Linked DNA regions of Homo sapiens: regions 1, 2 and 4 are each linked to region 3. Evidence: promoter capture Hi-C in 16 types of primary human blood cells and fetal thymus (Javierre and others, 2016). All regions are on one chromosome and are shown on one strand. The core of a region is centred on a gene start or on the middle of the fragment in contact, and the rest is flanking DNA. Distances in the headings are between cores, read along the strand shown.

The links. The method cuts DNA at HindIII sites, captures the fragments that hold promoters and counts their contacts. A CHiCAGO score of 5 or more calls a contact.
Region 1: a fragment that was not itself captured here is called in contact with the fragment with the promoter of BSN in region 3 in 1 of 17 cell types (M1 macrophages); the score reaches 6.3 in M1 macrophages.
Region 2: the fragment with the promoter of MST1R here is called in contact with the fragment with the promoter of BSN in region 3 in 4 of 17 cell types (M0 macrophages, M1 macrophages, M2 macrophages and 1 more); the score reaches 6.3 in M0 macrophages.
Region 4: the fragment with the promoter of MON1A here is called in contact with the fragment with the promoter of BSN in region 3 in 2 of 17 cell types (erythroblasts and endothelial precursors); the score reaches 6.0 in erythroblasts.

What each region holds. Positions count from the first base shown.
Region 1 is chr3:49,866,995-49,869,969 of GRCh38, reverse strand. It overlaps CAMKV (CaM kinase like vesicle associated), which reads left to right and starts at 64. Exons shown (of 11, transcript NM_024046.5): 1 at 64-212. RefSeq lists enhancers at 380-1,311, 1,312-2,244. The HindIII fragment of the contact is 2,291 bases long and covers 442-2,732 here.
Region 2 is chr3:49,902,486-49,905,278 of GRCh38, reverse strand. MST1R (macrophage stimulating 1 receptor) reads left to right here and starts at 1,406. Exons shown (of 20, transcript NM_002447.4): 1 at 1,406-2,793. The coding sequence starts at 1,670. RefSeq lists enhancers at 361-1,033, 1,022-1,071, 1,708-2,381, 2,382-2,793 and a silencer at 1,262-1,481. The HindIII fragment of the contact is 26,972 bases long and covers 1-2,793 here.
Region 3 is chr3:49,553,188-49,556,356 of GRCh38, reverse strand. BSN (bassoon presynaptic cytomatrix protein) reads right to left here and starts at 1,880. Exons shown (of 12, transcript NM_003458.4): 1 at 1,531-1,880. The coding sequence starts at 1,754. It overlaps BSN-DT (BSN divergent transcript), which reads left to right and starts at 1,991. Exons shown (of 3, transcript NR_038866.1): 1 at 1,991-2,316; 2 at 2,670-2,809. RefSeq lists silencers at 1,493-1,702, 1,773-2,072. The HindIII fragment of the contact is 4,717 bases long and covers 166-3,169 here.
Region 4 is chr3:49,928,222-49,931,185 of GRCh38, reverse strand. It overlaps MON1A (MON1 vesicular trafficking associated A), which reads left to right and starts at 1,375. Exons shown (of 6, transcript NM_032355.4): 1 at 1,375-1,577. RefSeq lists a silencer at 1,319-1,668. The HindIII fragment of the contact is 4,855 bases long and covers 835-2,964 here.

The DNA.
Region 1 (2,975 bases), core at 338-2,837, 310 kb before region 3:
GAGGCCCCGCCCCCAGCCCGCCCCCGGCCCGGGGTGCGAATCCGGTGCCGGCAAGCGGCTGGCGATGCTGGAGGTTCGCTAGCCGAAGCGGCTGCATCTGGCGCCGCGTCTGCCCCGCGTGCTCGGAGCGGATTCTGCCCGCCGTCCCCGGAGCCCTCGGCGCCCCGCTGAGCCCGCGATCACTTCCTCCCTGTGACCAACCGGCGCTGCAGGTGCGGGGCGGGCCGGGCTGGGGGCGCTTCCCGAACGCAGGTTGTGGGGCCTTGGGGGATTGTTTCCCTGGCTCGAGGTGCGGGATGCAGAGTGCGCGGGGGCGCAGCGAGGGCTCGAGGTCCTGGCGGGGTCAGAGCGCGCGGGCTTTGCAGATTTGGGGGAGGGAGTGCGGGGTCGGGCTAAAGTTCCCCATTACCTCGGACGGCTTGGGGGTTCTGGGGGGAAGCTTCTGCGGCTCGGAATTGTGAAAAGATTAACCCTCGAAGATTCGTGGTCCCCCGTGAGGATAGGGGCCGAGAGCTGAGCCGTCCCTCCCCGTTCCCAGAGCCGCCTCCAGCCCCTCCCAACTGTCCCCGGGCCCCTTCCCTCCCGCTTAGCAGTCACTAATTTCCATGACAACGGAGAGTTCTTTATGGGCGACAACCCGGAGGGGGCTGGGCGGGGCTGCCGCGGGGTGGGGGAGGAAGCTCCAAGCCCCTGGGGACCAGCAGCCCCCCAGCCAAAATTCAGCTTCCAAGCCTTCACCTGGGTGCCAGCTGGGGGTCCAGTGCATGGACCCACGTGCACGGTGGGGGTGGGGGCGCACATGTTCCTGCTGGGAGGTGCGGGGCTTGGTGCTCACACGTGTGCTTTCCGCATGTGTGTTGCTGTGCCAGCGGGGGCGAGCCAGCAGCACTTGGGAAAGGGGTCAGGGTGGCAGCACGGTGGGGAGCAGGGCCCCTGGCTGGAGGTGGCTGGGATAGTGACAGCATGAGCTTCTGCCTTCCCCAGCTTGTACTGTTTGGCAGAGACCCTGGGCTCTTGAGCCCCAGCCCCCTCCCCGCATAGCTCTGCCAAATTGCTTTTGTCCGCACCTCCCAGGCAGATCCTGCTCCACCAGGTTCCTTCCTAAGGATCAGGGCCCTCTGTCCCACACTAAAAGCTCAGAGTCTGCAGTAGTCCAGTCCCTGTGCTGTACTCCCCTTACCCCCAAGTCCAGGCTTTGAGCCCCCAGGACTACCTTTAGAGACCTGGTGCCCTCCCCCACCCTCAGAGTTGATTCCTGGCAGCTCCAGCGACTTCTGAGCCTCAGTTTCCTCAACTGGGGAACTGGTGTCTCCACTCAGAGTCAGGTTGGTTTCCAGGGTGGGGCAAGGGTCTCCCTTTTCTAATATTTGGTGTGGACCCTTCAGGTGCTCTCCTAGGCTGGCTGTTCACATATCTCTGATGGCCCTACTCTCCAGCCCCATGCCCTGGCCACCATTCACAGGCAGGCAAGCAGTCCTCTGCCCTGGGAGAAGGCCAGATTCCATGGTTTCCATTAGGGGAAACTGAGGCATGGGGAGGTGAAGGGCTGTGTGGTTATCCTGTTTCTGGGTTGCTTGTGGTGCCGTTTCTGGCACTCATGGCAGGATCTGCTGTTGGGGGTTGGTGAGAGGGGATTAAGCAGAGCTGTAAGAGGGGCTCTGGGGACCCAAAGCCTGGAAAGGATAGCAGATGGGGGAGGGGTTGGCTGGGAGGGTCTAAGTACAGCTGGGCCAACTGAGAAGAGGGACTATAAAGGGAAGCAGCCAGGCATCCGAGCCTCATTTCCATACCCCTATGCGTCTGCCTTCAACATGTTGGACCTGCTTTACCTAAGCTGCCGTGATGGCAGAGAGACGGGCTGGGAACTGTCCTGACTGGGGGGCTGCAGCAGCTGGCCTCTTCCCCACCAACATGCTCCAAGGAGCTGGCCTCCTTTTGGCTGTGCCTCCTACACCAAGTTCAGTGTATGTTTGGGGGATACAGGAGGGTGCAGTCTCGAAGGTCCCAGTACCATGGATAGCTCCTGGCCCAGGGATTTAGAGCACATCGCCATGGAGGCCTTAGGGCTCTGCTGGGCACCCATCCGCCCCCTTCAGAACTCCCGTCCACCTCCCCTTTCCTGCCCTTTGTGCCTGTGTCCCTTTTACTTTGTCATCTCCTTGCTCCTCTTCCATCACAGGTTCTGTCTTTGTCTGTGTCTCTGCCCCATTCTCTTTTTTCTAAATTCTCTCCATCTCCCCACCTCCCCTTTCTTGATGGGGACCTGGGTCACAGAACCTTGAAGAAGCAGCCAGGCTAAGGTCTCAGGAAATTCTTGAAGAAGGGACCTGACCAACACATCTCCCCTCCCCCTCCCCTTGTTTTAAAACTTCCATCACCATAGCAACCCTTTACTCTAGTGCCTTCCTCTGCATTTCCCCTCCTCCACCCACAGGGAAGCAGAGCCTCCAGTGGATTCTCCTTCAGGGGTTCAGAGATTTGGACCCCAAGTGCTTGGGAGGAGACAGCTGGCCTTTGGCTTTGCCTGCATGTTGACAGCTAAACTTTCGGGATGTAGCACTGGACTGCATGCCCACCCCCAAAACTGGAGAGACCTCCCCACAATACTCCCTCATTAGATGGGCAAAATTCAGCTGTAGGAACTTCTACCATGATTTAGCTCGAGCCGGAGGCTCAGTCAGGGCAGCCCCTTGACCGGTCCCCTGAAGCAATTGGATGGTGGTCTAGAAGCTTGGCCCTTGTTCTTAACAGACCTTGAGGGAGGTCTTCAGCTCCCCTGGTCCTGTGGGTGACACCTCAGCTGTGAGTTAAGCAGGGCTTGGGCTTCAGCATGTTCATTGCAGCAGGAAACCCAGCCCCAGCCCTTGAGAGAGTAGAGCAGCAGAGAGGAGGGGGTGCCTGCAGGCTGGTGTTCACAGCTGCCACTAAATTAGGAGGTGTTGCCTACAGTTGTTGGGAGGCAGCTGGAGGCCTCT
Region 2 (2,793 bases), core at 157-2,656, 350 kb before region 3:
CACCATGTTGGTCTTGAACTCCTGACCTCAAGCGATCCACCCGCCTCGGCCTCCCAAAGTGCTGGGATTACAGGCGTGAGCCACCACGCCCGGTCACATATTTTATTTTAAAAACATTTTTAGCAGTTTTTTTGTTTTGTTGAGTTTTGTTATGTTGCCCAGGCTGGTCTTGAACTCCTAACCTCAAGCAATCCTCCTGCCTTGGCCCCTCAAAGGAGTGCTAGGATTACAGGCATGAGCCACGGTGCCCAGCCCAGAACTACATTCTCATTGAAGAGAATAAGATCCAGCAAGGCCTACAGAGCATGTTGGAAGTGTCCTGAGAGCCAAAGCCCATGATTCCTCCATATCAGGGGGGCACTGGGTAGAGCCAGGAAGGAAGGGGGAGTCCCCAAGGCCCATACTGTGGACCCCATTATACAGCTTCCATATACTGAGGCTGCAGAGGAGGTATGGGCCTCCACTTACGTGCCTCTCTGACTCTGAGGTCCAGTCAGCAAGGCCAGATCCCATCCTAAGACCCTTATGGCCCTGGGAGAGCAGGGCATAACACACCTTCCTCTGACACCATCTTGTCGCTGATAGCTCAGGAGAAGCACATGGAAGAATGGTCCCGGCCGGGCGCGGTGGCTTACGCCTGTAATCCCAACAGTTTGGGAGGCTGAGGCGGGCGGATCACCTGAGGTCAGGAGTTTGAGACCAGCCTGGCCAACACTGTGAATCCTGTCTCTACTAAAAATACAAAATTAGCCGGGTGTGGTGGTGCGCGCCTGTAATCCCAGCTATTCAGGAGGTTGAGACAGGAGGAGGTTGAGGCTGGAGAATCGCTTGAACCTGGGAGGCGGAGTTTGCAGTGAGCCGAGATCGCGCCACTGCAATCCAGCTTGGGCCACAGAGCAAGACTCCTTCTCAAAAAAAAAAAAGGACAGTCCTTTCCCACAAAGGGTGGCGCCCCATAACATCTCTTGTAAGTGCCCCACATCTCCCCTCTGGTCTTCCACACAATCCTGGTCTCTGTTCTCCACATGGTGGGCCCCCAGGCCACCTCTGGGCACCAGCCACTGAGGGTGTTGCTACTAAGTGCAAACTAGTTCCACCGCAAGCAAAGAGCCCAGTGTCCTGCCCCCCTTCTCGCTGCGAACCAGTCGGTAGTGGGGGGATGGGATGGGACGGCTCAGACTGGCTCACCTCTCTCCAGGCCACACCATGCACATCCACCCACAGGCCGCTGAGAAAAAGGCGCCAAGACGCCAGGTGAAGGTACAGGAGCCAGGCCTCCAAGGGCCGGAAGAGTCGGATGGGCGGAGGGCCTGGGCTAGGCCAAGCCTTCCTCGCGGCCCCGCCCCCACGGCCCGACTCCGCCCGCCCAGCCCGGCGCCCTCGGGTCGGCTGAGCGCTAAGCGCCAGTGTACAGCGGCGGCTGGGGCGGCAGGTGAGGCGGCTGGGGCGTTGCTGTCGTGCGTCCGCAGGCGTCAGGTGCTCAGACCCGAGGGCCGGGAAGGGATTTGGGTTTCACAGGAACCTGGGGCGGGGGTCCGCTATCTTGGGGCTGTCGGGACCGCTGCTTAAATTTGGCCCAGTCCAGACCTCGAGTCGGGCCCCCAGCCAGGCCCACGCCCAGGTCCAGGCCCAGGCCGGTAGGGATCCTCTAGGGTCCCAGCTCGCCTCGATGGAGCTCCTCCCGCCGCTGCCTCAGTCCTTCCTGTTGCTGCTGCTGTTGCCTGCCAAGCCCGCGGCGGGCGAGGACTGGCAGTGCCCGCGCACCCCCTACGCGGCCTCTCGCGACTTTGACGTGAAGTACGTGGTGCCCAGCTTCTCCGCCGGAGGCCTGGTACAGGCCATGGTGACCTACGAGGGCGACAGAAATGAGAGTGCTGTGTTTGTAGCCATACGCAATCGCCTGCATGTGCTTGGGCCTGACCTGAAGTCTGTCCAGAGCCTGGCCACGGGCCCTGCTGGAGACCCTGGCTGCCAGACGTGTGCAGCCTGTGGCCCAGGACCCCACGGCCCTCCCGGTGACACAGACACAAAGGTGCTGGTGCTGGATCCCGCGCTGCCTGCGCTGGTCAGTTGTGGCTCCAGCCTGCAGGGCCGCTGCTTCCTGCATGACCTAGAGCCCCAAGGGACAGCCGTGCATCTGGCAGCGCCAGCCTGCCTCTTCTCAGCCCACCATAACCGGCCCGATGACTGCCCCGACTGTGTGGCCAGCCCATTGGGCACCCGTGTAACTGTGGTTGAGCAAGGCCAGGCCTCCTATTTCTACGTGGCATCCTCACTGGACGCAGCCGTGGCTGCCAGCTTCAGCCCACGCTCAGTGTCTATCAGGCGTCTCAAGGCTGACGCCTCGGGATTCGCACCGGGCTTTGTGGCGTTGTCAGTGCTGCCCAAGCATCTTGTCTCCTACAGTATTGAATACGTGCACAGCTTCCACACGGGAGCCTTCGTATACTTCCTGACTGTACAGCCGGCCAGCGTGACAGATGATCCTAGTGCCCTGCACACACGCCTGGCACGGCTTAGCGCCACTGAGCCAGAGTTGGGTGACTATCGGGAGCTGGTCCTCGACTGCAGATTTGCTCCAAAACGCAGGCGCCGGGGGGCCCCAGAAGGCGGACAGCCCTACCCTGTGCTGCGGGTGGCCCACTCCGCTCCAGTGGGTGCCCAACTTGCCACTGAGCTGAGCATCGCCGAGGGCCAGGAAGTACTATTTGGGGTCTTTGTGACTGGCAAGGATGGTGGTCCTGGCGTGGGCCCCAACTCTGTCGTCTGTGCCTTCCCCATTGACCTGCTGGA
Region 3 (3,169 bases), core at 631-3,130:
CCCTCTGAGCTGCCCAGGTCTTTCCAGAATTTCATATGATTGGCTCTGCAACATCTGATAAACTACAAGCAGAGCAGCCTGTTTGGTTATCAGAAGAGAAATGACAAATTCCCCATACAGGGAACTCTCAATAACAAGGTGTTTTTCCATTCAGCTACAGAAGCTTTCCCTTGGAAGGAGAACACTAAAGCCTGGGTGAGCCTCCCTCAAGCTAAAACCCAAACAGCAACTCAACATGCAGCAAAATGGACAGTGTTTGCAGTGCTAAGAGCTGTGTGCTATCCAACTGCATTACTATTATAGCTAGTATAAAATGGACAAATCCCACCTCTAAAAAGGATGCTCACAGGCTGACCTGTCTGCCGCAGGTTTCAAGCTACTAACAGCCTTTCATTACTGTTAGTTGTCTAAGAAATGACTTCTGAGGAAATAAACACACAAGAGGCACAGTCGGGCAGCCAAAGAATAAAAAATTATGCGTCCTCAGTTTATGTGCTTCCACACAGAAAAGCCAGGGCAACATATATCAGCAGACCCACATGGAGCTGGAAGCACCTCCCTCCCACCCCCTGGGGGTTTTGCTACTCCCCAAGCCTATTTGGTGCAAAGATAATGCCTTCCATTTTATCGTGTCATCTCTTAGTAGTTTTCCTGAGTTTTCAGTCTACTGACTTATTATATATTGGCATTCCCTTACAGCCTTCATTGCCACTTGACTGTTTTTGCAGGACCTGGGTTGGCATACATTTAAAACAAACTGGTTTCACAGTATTTAATCAGATATGTTCTGTTTAAAGCATTCTGTGTGGGTTTCAGCTTTTCCACTGGTTTGATCTAAATCATAAGGTAACGAGAACATATCTGGTGCTGGATGACTCAATAGCATTTTTGCTTCACCCCAAAATGTTTCCCTAAACCTTGGTGAAAGCACATGATCCTATTAGTATTGTTGGGCCTAAATAAGCACCTCTTGGTGTCCAGTGGGCAATTTTCCTTTCCCCCAAAGGTGATTACAGCCACTAAATGCCCAAGGAAAGCCCAAGACCAAGTTCATGGTTCAACTATTTTCATCTCTCTGTTCCTCGCAGTGACACTTATCTTCCCTGACAGCCACTCCCATTGTGCTGTTTTCTCGGCCCAGCACAATGGACACATGCAGACACCAGCAGACAGGGAGGACGTTTTCCATCCCATTGCTCTCCTGTGCGGAGGGACCAGGTTAAGGTTACATAAGCCCCTCCTGAGCAGTCAGGCCCGAGCGTTGGGGAGAAGCGAATTTGGGGTTCGTGACGGAGTCACGGTCTGCAGGCCCCGACTGACCCTGCGCTCGTCATCCTGCCACGCCAAGGCGGGGCAGCTGGAAAGGAAGGGCCGCTTCCCGCGACCACCCAGTTCACGCCAATCCGGCAGGGTTCAGAGTGCGGCCGGACGTCGAACCTCGCTGTCCACACTAGATCGCGGGATCCTGGGCCCGGGTCCCGGCCTCAGGCTGCAGCTCACCGCCCCCCGGGCGCCGAGACACGCGCTTACCTGCCCGGGCCAGGGCCGGGACCGGGGCCGGGGCCGGGGCCAGGGACCGGTGGTACCGCGGTCGACCGCGCTGCTCCCGCCGCGGGGAGCTGTCCGCCACCGGCCGGTGCTGAAGGCGGCTTTCCTGCGCCGGGGCCGGGGCCGGGGCCCGGGCCGGGGCCGGCGCCGCCGGGCGGCAGCGGCCCGTCGCCAGCGCCGCCCTCCAGGCTGACCTCGTTGCCCATGGCGGGCAGGCGGGCGGGCGGGGTCGGGGTCGCGCTGCGCCCGGGCCGGCGGCTCCCGGGCGGTGCTCACACTCTCGGCGCCGCCGCTGCCGCCGCCATCTCCCAGCTCGGCTCGCGCCGCCGCCTGCCGCTGCGCATGCGCGTCTCGCGCCCCCTTCCCTGCACACGCCCCCCTTCCCCTGTGCGCGCTCCCGCCAGCCTCGGGGTCGCTGGGAAACAGCCGCCGGCGCCCGCGCATGCGCTGTCCAGGGCCGACGCGGTTGTATCATGCTGAGAAGGAGCCGGGCGGGGGCCGGCGGGGCTGCGAGGGCCCTGTGAGGAGGGGCACCTGCCACTAGAAGCGGCCTCTGGGACGTCGCGCTGAGCCCTGCTTTGGAGTCAGAGGGGCTTTCCGCCTCGGTGAACTCGAGAGTAGCAACTCTCCTCCGGGTAACCGGAGTGCCACAGCGGGCAGGCGTCATAAGGACAGGCCTCGGAGAGGAGAGGGGCTACCCGAGAATGGCCTCAAAAGTATGCATAGGAGTTGGGAAGGCAGAGGAACAAGTGTATTCAGAGACGCAAGGTCGTAGAGGGAAGGAGAGGGAGGGTGCTGGGTGGTCGGGCCGGATTGTGAGGGTCTTTAAGGCCAGCTGGGGAGTGGAGCCTTTATCCAGATGGCGATGGGAACCATCTGGGATTCACACTGAGGAACTGGGAGTCTCAGGAAGCGCCCCGGGCACAGATGGAAGGTGTGACAGGGCTGTGTGAAGCCAGCTGGGAGGCCACCTCAGTCAGCCCTGGGAGAGTGACCTTGGGGATGGAAAAGAGGACTTGATGGTTCTCAGGCCTGGAGCTGTCTCGATGCGGGGCCGCAGGTTGCCTCTGCATTACCCTGAGAGCTTTCCAAATTACTTCCCCGCTCCCTCACATTTACAGCCGGTTTCTGCCCGCTACTCAGGATTGTCTGCCGTGGTGGCTTCTCACACAAGCCTGTACTTTCCTGTGGGAGAATATTTCCTAGGAGCCTATATTCCAGTTCATCTCTGACGTCATAAATCATGACTGTGTAGAAAGGCGTGAGTAACTTGAACCCATTTTACAAACCCATTCAATTCTCCTAATGTTGCGAAATATATCACATAGGGTGTTAGCAGTTCTAACTGAACCTAGAATAATCCAGGGATCCCAGTGAATGCTGATAGCCAGCCTGCTGGACAGACCGGTGGCTGTGTCAGTTCTTGTGAGGAGGGGCCAGGACCCTCCCTGGGCCTTCCCCTGTGCACTCCGAGCTGCTCCTCCCGACCTCTGGGATGGAGCAAGTAAGAGAAAGAGGAAATGCAGAGCCCCCACTTCCTGATATTTTCTCCTGACTTCATACCTCCCGTTTTCACGCTAAACTGCCTGGCCCCTCTGGGATGACCTAGGATGAAGAGAGC
Region 4 (2,964 bases), core at 126-2,625, 380 kb before region 3:
TTGTCACCATGTCAGTCACAGGCCAGTGTTGTGGAAGCAGGCTACAAGTGGCAGCCATCTGAGACTGGAAGAAAAGCCCAGGGGCGGAGCTCTACCCTAACTCCAGTGTAGGGCTTAGAGAGGAAAAGGACACTGCCCCCAGGTGCTTGTGGAGCAGCAGGGAAAGTCAGAGGAGTGATCTGACTTTTTTTTTCATCCTATTAACTTTTGGGAGAATTAACCATAAGGCTGTAAAGTGAATTAATTGCTTCAGAAAAGAACATGAGCAGTGGTGCCAAACACTAATTTTACTTTTTAAAACCATCTCTAAAAATAAGGGTCTTTTGGGAGAGCCTGTTGTTGACTGTTTTCCTGTTGTTTTTATTGCTTTGCGTCTAGGAAATTACAAACAATGATTCTTTGCAATGGTAAATCACCTGGGGAGCTTTTAAAACAATAGTGATGCCTGGCTCCCCAACACTCCACCCTACTCTAAATTCAATTAAATCAAAATCTCTAGGGCTGGTGTCCAGGCATTAGTTTTTTTGTTGTTGTTTTTGAGACAGGGTCTCGCTCTGGTGCTCAGGCTGGAGTGCAGGGCATGATCATGGCTCACAGCAACCTCGACCTCCTGGAATCCCACTTCAGCCTCCCGAGTATCTGGGACTACAGGCACACGCCATCAAGCCTGGCTAGTTTTTGTATTTTTAGTAGAGATGGGGTTTCACCATGTTGGCCAGGCTGGTCTGGAACTCCTGACCTCAAGTGATCCGCCCACCTCGGTCTCCCAAGTGTTGGGATTACAGGCGTGAGCCGCCTCGCCCGTCCTAGTTCTTTTTTTTTTTTTTTAAAGCTTCCCGGCTTATTCTATGTGCCGTCAGAGTTGAGAACTACCGTTCTAGAGCATTATACTGATACATTAAAACGTGGCTACAAATATGTTTTTAGAAACAATTAGTGCGACTTTTGCGCATGCCCACATCCTTTACAGCCTGTGTGGCTGGGCCCACTAATGACATTTATCCAGTCCCCCAAACTTGCACTGTCCTTCCACAATCAGTGGGAGAAACAATCCTAACGTCCCTTTCTCTCACTTGAAATGAACTGCTAGCTGGCTCGGACGGAGAGGCCCAGAGTCCAGGGCTGTTCTGTGTGGGACTCTAGACTCGGAGGAGGCGCCCAGGCCCCTAGAAGGCGGCGCCGGATGAGGCAATCGCGGACCCGGGTCAGGACCTGCCCACGGCTCTGCTGGGACTAGGAGCCCAGAACCAGTCCCTCGGCGCCGCAGGCGGCCAAACGCTAAGGACTACATTTCCCACAATGCACCCCGGGGGCGGGCCGAGTCGGGCTGAGCGGCTGGAGCTGGGCCTTGGCCGCGAGAGGCCGGCGAAAGCTATCTTCCTGCACCGGCGGCCGGGTGAGGGCGGTGGGAGGGAGCGGTGCCTGCGCTGTGGCCATGTCTGTGTACGCAGGGGGCCGGGGCCCCGCGAAGCTGTGCCCTCAGGCCGGCCCCGGCCGGACACCCTTACCCCTCCATGGGTCCGGCAGAGGGCAGTGACCGGCACCTTCTGTGCGTCCTGGACTCCTCTGAGAAACAGGTGAGTTGACTGCCAGCCCACGTGGCCTGGAGGCACCTAGAGACTGGAGAGCTGTCATCTTTGGAGGGAGGGGCTTGAAGACGGGGGCCTCCAGCCATCAACGCTATCGTTTGCAATGGGAAGACTGTGTCTCCCTGCGGTCCCTCAGCCGGCTAGTCCCCAGCTGGGGAATACAAAAGGCGAGATCTGGAACCCATCCTTTGGCTGGGAGGGCGAGATCCGGTAGGGGGCAGTGGCCAGGTAGGACTCTCCCCACTCCCCCACCCCCGCCCCGCCAACAAACGTACACATATTCGGCCGGTAGAGTCTTCTCAAAAAGCAACAGAGGTAACTGGGATGAGCGGGGCAGCACCTGGAAGGGGCTTGGGTCTTTGCTTTGTTGTTTTTAGACGGAGTTTCACTCTTGTTGCCCAGTCTGGAGTGCAGTGGTGTGATCTCAGCTCTCTGCAACCTCCGCCTCCCAGGTTCAAGCGATTCTCCTGCCTCAGCCTCCCGAGTAGCTGGGATTACAGGCATGCGCCACCACGCCCAGCTAATTTTTTGTATTTTTGTATTTTTTTAGTAGAGACGGGGTTTCACCATGTTGGCCAGGCTCGTCTTGAACTCCTGACCTCAGGTGATCTGCCTGCCTCAGCTTCCCAAAGTGCTGGGATTACAGGCATGAGCCACTGCGCCTGGCCGGACTTTGCACCAGTTTGCCTGGTGCAACTGGGTTGTCCCTTGTACTGGGTGAGCCACCCTTTCTGGGCACAAGTTTGCAGAGGGAGAGTGAGCACCCTTTGTCAGGGAGGGAAGTAACCGCCAGAAGTGACAAGGACCAGACTGTGATCTCAGCATGGAGTAGGCATCCTGCTGAAGCAGCCATAGCACAGCCTCACCTGGGCCTTGTCTGCCACACATCCTGTATCCTGGCACCTCCTTTCCAGACAGGCCGCTCCAAAGGGTTAAGGTGAAATGAAGTGCTATCCAAGCAAGAAGAGGGAGCAGGAGTGGTAGGGAGTCAGTAGGGAGGGGCTTCTGAAGGCCTTCTCTGCTCCAAGGCTGCCTGAGTGAGAGAGGCACACTACAAGGGCTGATTGAGCCAACTTGTTTGGTGACATTGCTCACAGGCATAGCAGGGCACTTCTAGGAAAAGCAAGGCCTGGGGCTTCTAGAGGGGTTGTCTGAGAAGGGTTCCCTGAGAAGGGGCATCTGGGGCTGGTTCTAAGAGACCTCCTTTGCCTAACTTCTTCAATTCTAGCCTCCCAGGAGCTTCAGTTGCACAGTTGTGGCTCCAATGGGGGTTGGGGTGGATTTTGCTGTGATTCACTCAGCCTCCCTGTCTGAGTTTCCAGAGTAAGTATTCAGAGAGCTGTTTGCTTCATCAGGCCTCTGGCTGGACCCCAGA